Linked DNA regions of Homo sapiens: region 2 is linked to region 1. Evidence: promoter capture Hi-C in human tissues and cell types (Jung and others, 2019). All regions are on one chromosome and are shown on one strand. Each heading gives the region's core, a stretch centred on a gene start or on the middle of the fragment in contact. The rest is flanking DNA. Distances are from core to core; before and after follow the strand shown. Region 1 holds the start of OR1M1 (olfactory receptor family 1 subfamily M member 1). Region 2 overlaps ZNF559-ZNF177 (ZNF559-ZNF177 readthrough).

Region 1 (6,043 bases), core at 664-3,163:
GGGTTATGACCAGACCACTGCACTCTACCCTGGGTGACAGAATGACACCCTGTTCAAAAATAAGAAAGGAAAACAGAAAAACCTATAGATTAAAAGGACTTAAAACAGTAATCAACCAACTGCAATCTATGGACATTATATGAATTCTGATGTAAAAAACTAAAAATATATGAGGCAATTTGGGTAATTTGAATAATAATTGGGTATTTGAAAATGTTATATAATTATTATTAATATTTTGAATCAAAATAATTGCTAGGCGCAGTGGCTCACATCGGTAATCCCAGCACTTTGGGAGGCTGAGGTGGGTGGATCGCTTGAGGTCAGGAGTCCAAGACTAGCCTGGCCAACATGGTGAAATCCTGTCTCTACTAAAAATACAACTTGGGAGCCTCCCTACTCAGGAGGCTGAGGCAGGAGAATCGCTTGAACCCGGGAGGCGGAGGTTGCGGTGAGCCAAGATTGCACCACTCTACTCCAGCCTGGATCACAGAGCGAGACTCCATCTCAAAATAATAATAATAATAATGGTATTGTGGTTATGCTTTCAAAAAGAGCTTTTTGTTTTTTGAAGACATACCAAAATCATTATACATATGGAATTTGCTCTGAAATTATCTCTGGGAAGAGAGAGGTCAAAGTAGGTAGGACACAGATTCAACAGAGGCTTGACTTGGTAGGTGTGGAAGCTGAGTGATTGGGCACACAGGATTTCATTATATGAAGCTGAGGCATACCAAAAAAAAAAATGCCAGTTTTGTTGATCAAAAATGGTAGAATATTGACAATTGCATATGGCTCAACCTAGTATTTTGCTCTTTACATAGCTAAAGGCTTTGAAAAACTGAGCCTTCATGTATCCATCAGTTTCATGAGTGTTTACTGAGTAGACACAACCCAATAATCTGGGCATGACCTTATAAAACCAAATTCCTGAAAATTCCCAGTAATGCCACCATGGTCCCAATACTCAGTGAGAATCTGGCTGCAGACTTAGTCAGCCAACCACTCTCTCCATGTACATCCATTAGGGTAGGCTCTAGTTTCTCCTTTTGCAGAACTGAATGAAAGCCATGATCCCTTTATAGAGAGTTGTTCTGTTGAGGTTGAGTGATGAAAGCAGGCAGCCCTGGGTCTTGGTGACAGATCACTGGGTGGACGTGGGAAAATGTTTGGAGTGTTTCTTAGTTCTTTTCTTTTTTTTTTTTTTTTTTTTTTTGAGATGGAGTTTCGCTCTTGTTGCCCAGGCTGGAGTACAATGGTGCAATCTCGGCTCACCACAACCTCTGCCTCCTGGGTTCAAGCGATTCTTCTGCCTCAGCCTCCTGAGTAGCTGGGACTACAGGTGTGCACCACCATGCCAACTAATTTTTGTATTTTTAGTAGAGACAGTGTTTCACCATGTTGGCCAGGATTGTCTCAATCTCTTGACCTCATGATCCACCCGCCTCAGCCTCCCAAAGTGCTGGGATTACAGGCGTGAGCCATCACACCCGGCCATTTCTTAATTCTTTAAGTGATGAGGAACATTGGCTTCCAATAAGAATGGAACCTTCTGATATAAGAAGCCCTGGGCATTGGAAAGACTGAGTTTAGAAGACAGGGAGAGTTTGTTCCTGGAAGAGAGGGTGCAGAGAAAGTTAGGAATCATGCAACTTACCCCTAAGTTGCCTCATGAAGACATAAAATGCTTCTTACTGCCACGTCCCAGCCCCCATAGGAAACAGAACTATTCAGGGACTAGAGATGAAATTGGACAATTTGTGTAACAAGGAGCTTGGGGAATTGACTTCTTATTGGCCCAGAAATTGTAAATATTCCCTCGGTTCCTACAACTTATCCCCCACCCTAGCTTTTCTTCTTTGGACCAGGAGGACAACTTCCCAGTATTTCTATGTAGCATCTGCTGGCCCAAACATCTAACTTCATCATCTAGTACCTGCTGGGAGGACACTGAGCCAGTTTAACTCATGCCTGGGTGATGGTGTCAAGAAGAGGAAAGATAGCCCAGTGAGTGAGCTGAGAGAGAGAGAGAGAGAGAGAGACTGAACGAATGTTGGTAAAATTAATGAAGCCAAGCTCAATGATCTCAGATACACTGGAAGATTCTTTTTTATTATTTATTGATTTACTGATTTATTTATTTTAGAGACAGAACCTTGCTCTGTTATTCAGGCTGGAGTGCAGTGGCACAATCACAGCTCACTGCAGCTTCTACCTCCTGGGCTTAAGCAATCCTCCTGCCTCAGCCTCTAGAGTAGCTGGAACTACAGGCATGTGCCACCACACCCAGCTGATTTTTTGAACATTTTTCCCCCACCGAGATGGAGTTTTGCTCTTGTTGCCCAGGCTGGAGTGCAATGGCACGATCTTGGCTCACTGCAACCTCTGACTCCCAGGTTCGAGCAATTCTCCTACCTCAGCCTCCCGAGTAGCTGGGATTACAGGCATACACCACCATGCCTTGTGAATTTTGTATTTTTAGTAGAGACAAGGTTTCACCATGTTGGTCAGGCTGATCTCGAACACCTGACCTCAGGTGATCACCCGCCTCAGCCTCCGAAAGTACTGGAATTCACTGTGCTCGGCCGACACTGGAAGATTCTGTCTGGTCAATCAGCACCCACTTGTCAGCCCAGAATCCAATGGCTCTTCTTACCAAACTAGCTCAGCCTGGTTTAGTTGTGATGCTACCAGTCCTTTACCTAAAAACCATGATTATTTGTAGCACTGTTTTTCTTCGTAACTAGACTTTTTTTTTGAAATGGAGTCTTACTCTGTCACCCAGGCTGCAGTGCAGTGGCATGATCTTGGCTCACTGCAACCTCCATCTCTCAGGTTCAAGAGATTCTCCTGCCTCAGCCTCCCAAGTAGCTGGAATTACAGATGCCCGCCACCACACCCAGCTAATTTTTGTATTTTTAGTGGAGCTGGGGTTTCACCATAATGGCCACGCTGGTCTCCAACTCTTGACCTCAGGTGATCCACCCGCCTCAGCCTCCCAAAGTTCTGGTATTACAAGCATGAGCCACTGCGCCCAGCCTGGACTTTCTTTTCCAAGCCCACTTGAGTGCCTGAAGGAACAGATGGCTTCCTCCTCAGTACTTCTGTAGGCAGAAGTTTGTGTTATTCCCCATGTTGGGTCTTGGAAGCCCTTGGAGATTCCCAAGTATTCCAGGCTGAGAGATCTTAGACACAGAGTGCAGAGGTCCAGATAGGATAGGACTGGTGCTTCCTTGGAGAGAGGCTCATCAAGAAGCTTAAGGGATGAATCTTCGGGTTCCTGATACTTAAATTTTTCCCAAGAGCTGTGGAAGAATGAGGAGTGACAGAGTAATTCAGTGAAAGCTTAGGTGTCAGGGCAGGAGGATGTCTGAGATCAGTTCCTTGATTCCATTAGTAGTTTAATCACAGAGCATTCACTGGCTTCCTTGAGATGGAAAAATACTCTGACTCGGCCAGGCACGGTGGCTCACACCTGTAATCCCAGCACTTTGGAAGGCCGAGGCGGGCGGATCACCTGTGGTCAGGAGTTCAAGACCAGCCTGGCCAGCATGGTGAAACCCCATCTCTAGTAAACATACAAAAAAATTAGCCAGGTGTGGTGGTGGGTGCCTGTAATCCCAGCTACTCGGGAGGCTGAGGCCAGAGAACCATTTATATCCGGGAGGCAGAGGTTGCAGTGAGCTGAGATTGCACCATTGCACTCCTGCCTGAGCAACAAGAGCGAAACTCTGTCTCAAAAAAAAAAAAAATACTCTGACTCCTTTTAAAATGTTTTAATTGTATATATTTATGAGGTACATAGTAATGTTTCCATATATGTAATGTATAGTGATCAGATCTGGGTAATTAGCACATCTATTATCACAAACATTTATCATTTCTCTGTGTTGGGAACACTCAATATCCTCCTTCTAGCTGTTTAGCTATATAGCATATTATTGTTAACTGTATTCATCCTACAGGGATATAGAACACTAGAACTTATTCTTCCAATTTGCCTGTAGTTCTGTATGCTGTAACAAATCTCTTCCTATCTGCCCCCTCCCTCTACCCTTCCCAGACTCTAGTATCCTCTGTTCTTTTTACTTCTATGAAATCATTTTTTTTCTTTTAGCTTTCACATGTGAGTGAGAACATGCAGTGTTTAACTTTCTGTTCCTGGCTTATTTCATTTATAATATGCTCCAATTCTTTCCATGTTGCTGTAAATGACAAGATCTCCTTCATTTTTATGGCTGAATAGTTTTCCATTGTGTATTTCTACCACATTTTTTTTTTTTTTTTTTTGAGACAGAGTTTCGCTCTTGTCACCCCGGCTGGAGTGCAATGGCACAATCTCAGCTCACTGCAACCTCCGCCTCCTGGGTTCAAGCGATTCTCCTGCCTCAGCCTCCCAAGTAGCCAGGATTACAGGGGCCCACCACTACGCCCGGATAATTTTTTGTATTTTTAGTAGAGACGGGGTTTCACCATGTCGGCCAGGCTGGTCTCGAACTCCTGACCTCAGGCAATCCGCCTGTCTCAGCCTCCCAAAGTGCTGGGATTACAGGTGTGAGCCACTGTGCCCTGCCTAAAGCCAACACATTTTCCAAAAATCCCTGGCTGCCTCAACAGTTTTCGGAGTGCTCTTACAATCCTCAGGGGTGCTGTGTGTGGGGTGTGATTCTCTATTAATCCAAGCTCCTCATAATCTGATAAATGCTGCCTGGAGTTCATCTCCCTCACTAAACTGTGAATTCATGAATCCATGCGTGCTTCATGAATTACAGAGATTAAGAGTACATGCTCTAGATTTAGAATGCTTGGGCTAATCCAGCCACCTGCTCTCAGTTAAACCCCATTTGATTGTATTAATCTTCTGTGCTTCCATTTCTTCCTGCATGAAATAGCACTAACATTATTCTGTTGTCGTGAGTAGCAAATTAGCAGAGACCTTCGATCAGTGCCTGGCAATACAGGATAACCATCACTGATTCATGCGTATATGGAACAATTATGTTTATGTCTTCTGTATCCCAGACAAGATGCTGGTCACAAAAATGAACAAAGACAAACAATTCCTGATTTCAAATGTCTTGAGGACAGGGTCTGTGTATTTTCATATATTTGTCCCCACAACTCAGGCCAGATCCTGTCACTATATATTGCAATTACCAATAATTTTTTACAAAATGAATGAACGAATGCGTGAGTGAATAAAAGTGACATCTGCAAGGTGTTCATTAGAAATCACAAAAATAAAAAATAAAAATATAAAAGTAACATGATCAGAACTGTAATGCAGGAAGATTAATTTAGTGACTTCAGGATTGTTTCTTTTTTTTGAGATGGAGTTTCGCTCTTGCTGCCCAGGCAGGAGTGCAGTGGCGCAATCGGGGCTCACTGCAACCTCTGCCTCAGCCTCCTGAGTAGCTGGGTTTACAGGCATGCGCCACCATGCCCGGCTAATTTTGTATTTTTAGTAGAGACGGGTTTTCTCCATGTTGGTCAGGCTAGACTTGAACTCCCGACCTCAGGTGATCCGCCTGCCTCGGCCTCCCAAAGTGCTAGGATGACAGGCATGAGCCACCGCGCCCGGCCGACTTCAGGATTGTTTCAAAGGAAGATAATTGGATGCATGAGGCTAGCTTAAGATTAGTGAACTTGGCAACTCAGAAGTAATAAGAGCCTTTCATTTAGGGTGTCTGGAAAGAGGAGATGACTGGAAATGACTATAAAAATAAAAAGTTCAGGACGGGCGCGGTGGCTCATGCCTGTAATCCCAGCACTTTGAGAGGCCAAGGCGGGCAGATCACGAGGTCAGGAGATCAAGACCATCCTGGCTAACATGGTGAAACCCCGTCTCTACTAAAAAGTACAAAAAATTAGCCAGGCGTGGTGGTGGGCGCCTGTAGTCCCAGCTACTCGGGAGTCTGAGGCAGGAGAATGGCGTGAACCTGGGAGGCGGAGCTTGCAGTGAGCCGAGATCGTGCCACCGCACTCCAGCCCGAGTGACAGAGCGAGACTCTGTCTCAAAAAAAACAAATAGATAAAATAA
Region 2 (5,827 bases), core at 1-2,500, 290 kb after region 1:
TTTAATAATCCTTTAGTTAAAGCCAAAGTATGGCAATCAGTTTTGTGGAATATTTAATTCTCACACATTTCTCCCACATCCTTGCTTTCTGCGTGAGCAGGGTATCAGCTCTGCAGACACAGTCTGATCTCCAAGGTGGATCAAGAACAGCTGAAGACAGATGAAAGAGGAATTTTACAAGGTGACTGTGCAGGTGAGCCTTGGGCAGAACAGGGTGCAGCCTTGGCCAGTGAGGGTTAGTACATTTGGGAATGTCACTCAGTGAAGGAAAAGAAATCTGAGGCCATGACATGAGCTTCCTTCCTGTTTCACCATCTATTCAATCGTTCATACGTTCATTTGGTCTCCGAGAAAGAAGTTTTAATTCCTCTTTAAATGTAATGTCTCCATGAATGCTTTTTGCCAGATAATACTGTCTTATTTCCCAACCTCCACAATCCTTTCTAACTAAAATACCTCCCATTTCTACTGCTTGTTCCTATCACTGGTGAATCACTGGTTGTGTCTTCTTTCTTACATTTCTCTACTTAGAAGATATTATTTGAAAACAAATCCATAGGGTCTCCCTCCCTTTTTCTTTGATCCCAACCTTTTCTCCCAATAATTATAAAAATTCCTGTGCTATTTCAGACTGGGAAACTCAACTTAAACCAAAAGATACAATTGCTATGCAGAACATTCCTGGGGGAAAAACATCCAATGGCATAAACACGGTAAGACTTACTAGGAAGTATTCCTGGTCTTTGTAGTAGAAGTCTGGGAATCTGAATGAGTTAAAACATCAGCACCCAAAGCAGGGGTAAGAATTCAGGCACCAGGCTTTCACCAGAAAGCTGTCTCGGGAGAGTTTGGAGTTTGATTTTCATGAAATTGGAGAAATCTGTAAACCTAGGTTAACACTTGCTGGCTCACAGAGAATAACCACAAGTAAACATCTATGTAAATATGATTTTAGAGTTAAGTATTTAGTACATAATTCATTCATTCTTCACTCAGTATTAGAAAAACTGTATTAAAGAAGCCCTTTGCTGGGAAGGAATAGAGCCTTGGACAGAGGAGTGAGCTTATTCAACTCGAAAAAGCTAATAGGGCAAAAGTCATACGCACCTACTGAAAATGGTACACATGTCAGTCATGATCATGTGCTTCCTATATATGGCAGAATCCTCATGGAAGAGAATTCCTGTGAATAAGGTGAAAGTGAAAAAGCCTCTAGTCACCACTTACTCCCTTTTCAACAGGCAGAAAATCAACCTGGTGAGCACTCCCTGGAGTGTAACCATTGTGGGAAATTCAGAAAGAACACTCGCTTTATTTGTACAAGATATTGCAAGGGAGAGAAATGCTATAAATATATAAAGTATAGCAAAGTCTTCAACCATCCCTCAACTCTTAGGAGTCATGTGAGCATTCACATTGGAGAGAAAACTCTTGAATTTACTGATTGTAGAAAAGCTTTCAATCAAGAGTCATCCCTCAGGAAACACTTAAGAACTCCCACAGGACAGAAGTTTCAGGAGTATGAGCAATGTGATATGTCCTTCAGCCTACACTCTTCCTGCTCAGTACGTGAGCAAATACCTACTGGAGAGAAAGGTGATGAATGCAGTGACTATGGCAAAATATCTCCCCTTAGTGTCCACACAAAAACTGGTAGTGTGGAGGAGGGTTTGGAATGTAATGAACATGAGAAAACTTTCACTGACCCTTTGTCCCTTCAGAACTGTGTCAGAACTCACTCTGGAGAGATGCCCTATGAATGCAGTGACTGTGGGAAAGCCTTCATTTTTCAGTCTTCCCTTAAGAAACACATGAGATCTCATACTGGAGAGAAGCCTTATGAGTGTGATCACTGTGGAAAATCCTTTAGCCAGAGCTCTCATCTGAATGTGCACAAAAGAACTCACACTGGAGAGAAACCCTATGACTGTAAGGAATGTGGGAAGGCTTTCACTGTTCCTTCATCCCTTCAGAAACATGTGAGAACCCACACTGGAGAGAAACCCTATGAATGCAGTGACTGTGGAAAAGCCTTCATCGATCAGTCATCCCTTAAGAAACACACACGCTCTCACACTGGAGAGAAGCCTTATGAGTGTAACCAGTGTGGAAAGTCCTTCAGCACAGGCTCTTACCTTATTGTGCACAAGAGAACTCACACTGGTGAGAAAACCTATGAGTGTAAAGAATGTGGGAAGGCCTTTAGGAATTCCTCTTGCCTGAGGGTACACGTGAGAACTCACACTGGAGAGAAGCCTTATAAATGTATTCAGTGTGAAAAAGCCTTTAGCACAAGCACTAACCTTATAATGCACAAGCGAATCCACAATGGCCAGAAACTCCATGAATGAAATGACTCAGGGAAGTGTTTGTTGCCCCTCATGCCTCCTTTCTCACTTTAGAACATATATTGGAGAGAAGCCCTGTTATGGTCACCTGGAAACAGCCTTCTGGCCCAACTCTGGATGCCTGTTATACTGGGACAAACCTTATAAATGTTATAGCTATGATTGTTTTTATCAGTGAGTATTTCATTCTTATATGTGTCACAACTGTAGATCCTATGAATATTTTAGTTATCTTTTCAGTTTAATTGCATTGTGAACAGAACACATGGTCTTCAATATGTAGATTCTGTGTGACATAGATTTGAACATAATTGCTGGACACTGACTGATGTACTGTGGCAGACAGAACTAGTTGCTGTCTCAATATCCATTCCTCCCTTCTTTCTTAAAGTAATAAAATTTACCATTTAGTTCAAGCTGGCAATGTGGACAGTTTTCACCCAGCTTCCCTTACAGCTGTGAGCGGCCAAATATGTTCACATCCCTAGCCCATGCAAAGTAGGCAGAAGTCACTGGATACAGCTGCTAAGGAAGCTCATGGAAATGGGAATATCTCATCTGGTGTTTTTTTCTTAACTATTTGCCCTTTGTCTTGTCCCTTATTTCCTAGAAAATATATACACCAAGAGGAGGACAGAGAAAGGATACTAAATGAAACAACAGGGGAGATACAATATTATCTGGTTGCACTAATCCTGTGCTGCTTATCTCTGGATTTCATGTTACATGAGAAAAATTAACTGCCATGTGGTTTAAACCACTCTTGTGGGAAGTTCCTCTTTCAGCTGATTTCAGTCCCAACTGTTACATCTAATAAATGGTCAAGTTTTAGGAATCGTTCAAGTATGGTTGAAAAATTGTGTTTTCTGAGGCAGAAGGATCACTTAAGTCTAGGAGCTTGAAATCAGCTGAGGCAACACAGTGAGACCCCATCTCTACCAAAAAAGGAATAATTAGGTCTTGCTGTGTTGCCCAGGCTGGAGTGCAGTGGTGTGATCTCAGCTCAGTGCAACCTCCGCCTTCTGAGTTCAAGTGATTCTCGTGTCTCATCCTCCCAAGTAGCTGGGATTACAGGCAAATGCCACCACGCCTAGCTACTTTTTTGTATTTTTAGTAGAGGTGGGGTTTCGCCATGTTGGCCAGGCTGGTTTTGAACTCCTGATCTCAAGTGATCTGCCTGTGTTGGCCTCCCAGAGTGCTAGGATTACAAGTGTGAGTCACCGCCCCCAGCCAAATTGTTTTCTTTAAAAATCTCTCTCTCTAGGCCAGGTGCAGTGGTGCATGTCTGGGAGCCCAAGGCGGGCAGATCACTTGAGCTTACCAGTTCAAGACCAAGCCCAGCCAATGAGCCGAAACTCCATCTCTACAAAAAACAAAACAAAAAAAAGTTAGCCAGGTATGGTATTGTGTACCTGTAAGTCCCAGCTACTCAGTAGGCTGAGGTGAGAGGATCACCTGAGCCCAGGAGGCAGAGGTAGCAGTGAGCCGAGGTCATGCCACTGCATTCCTGCCCGGGCCACAGCAAGACCGTGTCTCAGGGAAAAAAAAAAAAAAAAAACTCTCCTTTTTTGGGGGGCACTGTAATTGGGTACATTTAAGTTTACTCATTTTATGTTTCTGGCAAATTGTGCTATTAGTGCCCATACTTTTCCCCTAATAACTAATGTTCATTAATTTACTACAAATGTGAGCTACTGACCTAGAAATACCATTTTCTCAACCTGTAAGGACAACCAGGAGCAACTTACTTTTTCTCAGCGTTACATCAGTTATACTGTTGCTTGCAATAACATCCAGCAGGTATGGTCATCTTTACATCCCACAACTTGTCCTCTCTATTGATGCCTTTATGAGTTCTTTCGTAAGACAGACGTGAATGTTTGTTGGGGAATACACCCAAACATTCAGGCTAACCACCTGAAGTTTCTAGGGGTTCAGTTGTCTGGCGCTTGTCAAGATATTCCCTCTAAGGTGAAAGGAGAATTGCTGCAATTTGTACTACTAATCACAAACAGCACAATGCTTGGTCGGTTTTTTTGGTTTCTGGAGGCACCATATTGACGCAATATGACAACACTTGGAGAATTTAGAAAAATAACACGTTCTCGGCCAGACGCGGTGGCTCACGCCTGTAATTCCAGCACTTTGGGAGGCCAAGGCGGGCGGATCACCTGAGGTTGGGAGTTCGAGACCAGCCTGGCCAACATGGAGAAACCCCATCTCTACCAAAAATACAAAATTAGCTGGGCATGGTGGTACATGCCTGTAACCCCACCTACTTGGGAGGCTGAGGCAGGAGAATCGCTTGAACCCGGGAGGCAGAGGTTGCAGTGAGCCGAGATTGGACCGTTGCACTCCAGCCTGGGCAACAAGAGCGAAACTCCATTTCAAAAAAACAAAAAACAAAAACATTCTGGCAGTATATGAGGGCAGGATAACAAACTCAGACAAGGACAGAATGAAGCCTGAAAACCTTCAAAAATAATTTATGAAATAGAAGGAAACTGGGTTTTTTTTTTTTTTCGTTTTTTTTTTTGAGATGCAGTCTCGCTCTGTTGCCAGGCTGGAGTGCAGTGGCGCAATCTCAGCTCATTGCAAACCTTCGCCTCCTGGGTTCAAGTGATTCTCCTGCCTCAGCCTCCGGAGTAGCTGGGACTACAGGCAAGGGCCACCACACCCAGCTAGTTAGAGATGGGGTTTCACCATGTTGTCCAGGATGGTCTGGATCTCTTGACCTCGTGATCTGCCCACCTCAGCCTCCCAGAGTGCTGGGATTACAGGTGTGAGCCACCATGCCTGGCCGGAACTGGGTATTTTTTAAAAAGAAACCATCATATCGCATTTAAATTTATCCAGAAATGCAAAGTTGGTTTTACATTAGAAAAATCAATAAATACAATTCACTTTTAAAATAGGCTTATTACTCATTCACTCATACTAATAATTACTAGGCACCTAGAATGAATGAGGCAGTGTTCAAAGCATTTAATGCATTATTGAAAAAATAGGATAATCTCAGTAGATAAAGAAAAAGCCATAAAGAGGTATTACTGAGAAAAATCTTTGAAAATATGATAAACATTGTATAAAAAAATGCAAAAGTAAACAATAAATGAATGGTGGAAAATAGAAAATGAGTTTAAAATCAGGAAGATGACAATGGTATCCACTACTTAGTATTTTACTGGAATCTTAAGTGAGGCAGGCTAGGAAAAGATATTTAAAAACCTAAGGACCAGAAAGGTAGAAGTAAATCTGTCATTATTTATAATATGATTACCTAAATGGAAAATTTCAAAGGATCTATATTTAAATTAATGAAAATGTTTACTATCTTAATAAAGATAAACTTGCAACTTATACTCAGGAATAGAAATAATAAAATTTAAAAGTCAATACCATTTATAAGAGCAACAATGGTATAACATATGGAAGAATAAATTTTAAACTTACCAAAATTGTGGAAGAATAAATTTTAA

What was found. The method cuts DNA at HindIII sites, captures the fragments that hold promoters and counts their contacts. A contact is called where the count stands out against the background at its distance.
Region 2: a contact is called between a fragment that was not itself captured here and the fragment with the promoter of OR1M1 in region 1, in 2 of the 25 tissues and cell types used here (H1 embryonic stem cells and neural progenitor cells).

What each region holds. Positions count from the first base shown.
Region 1 is chr19:9,085,148-9,091,190 of GRCh38, forward strand. OR1M1 (olfactory receptor family 1 subfamily M member 1) reads left to right here and starts at 1,914. Exons shown (of 2, transcript NM_001004456.2): 1 at 1,914-2,010. The HindIII fragment of the contact is 13,481 bases long and covers 1-6,043 here.
Region 2 is chr19:9,379,427-9,385,253 of GRCh38, forward strand. ZNF559-ZNF177 (ZNF559-ZNF177 readthrough) reads left to right here. Exons shown (of 13, transcript NM_001384659.1): 11 at 101-193; 12 at 631-713; 13 at 1,242-3,191. The coding sequence ends at 2,351. It overlaps ZNF177 (zinc finger protein 177), which reads left to right. Exons shown (of 8, transcript NM_001172651.2): 6 at 101-193; 7 at 631-713; 8 at 1,242-3,191. The coding sequence ends at 2,351. It overlaps LOC112268250 (a long non-coding RNA gene), which reads right to left. Exons shown (of 3, transcript XR_002958434.2): 3 at 5,314-5,827. Among named protein-coding and RNA genes, the nearest start is that of ZNF177, 19 kb to the left of the region's middle. The HindIII fragment of the contact is 6,564 bases long and covers 1-4,532 here.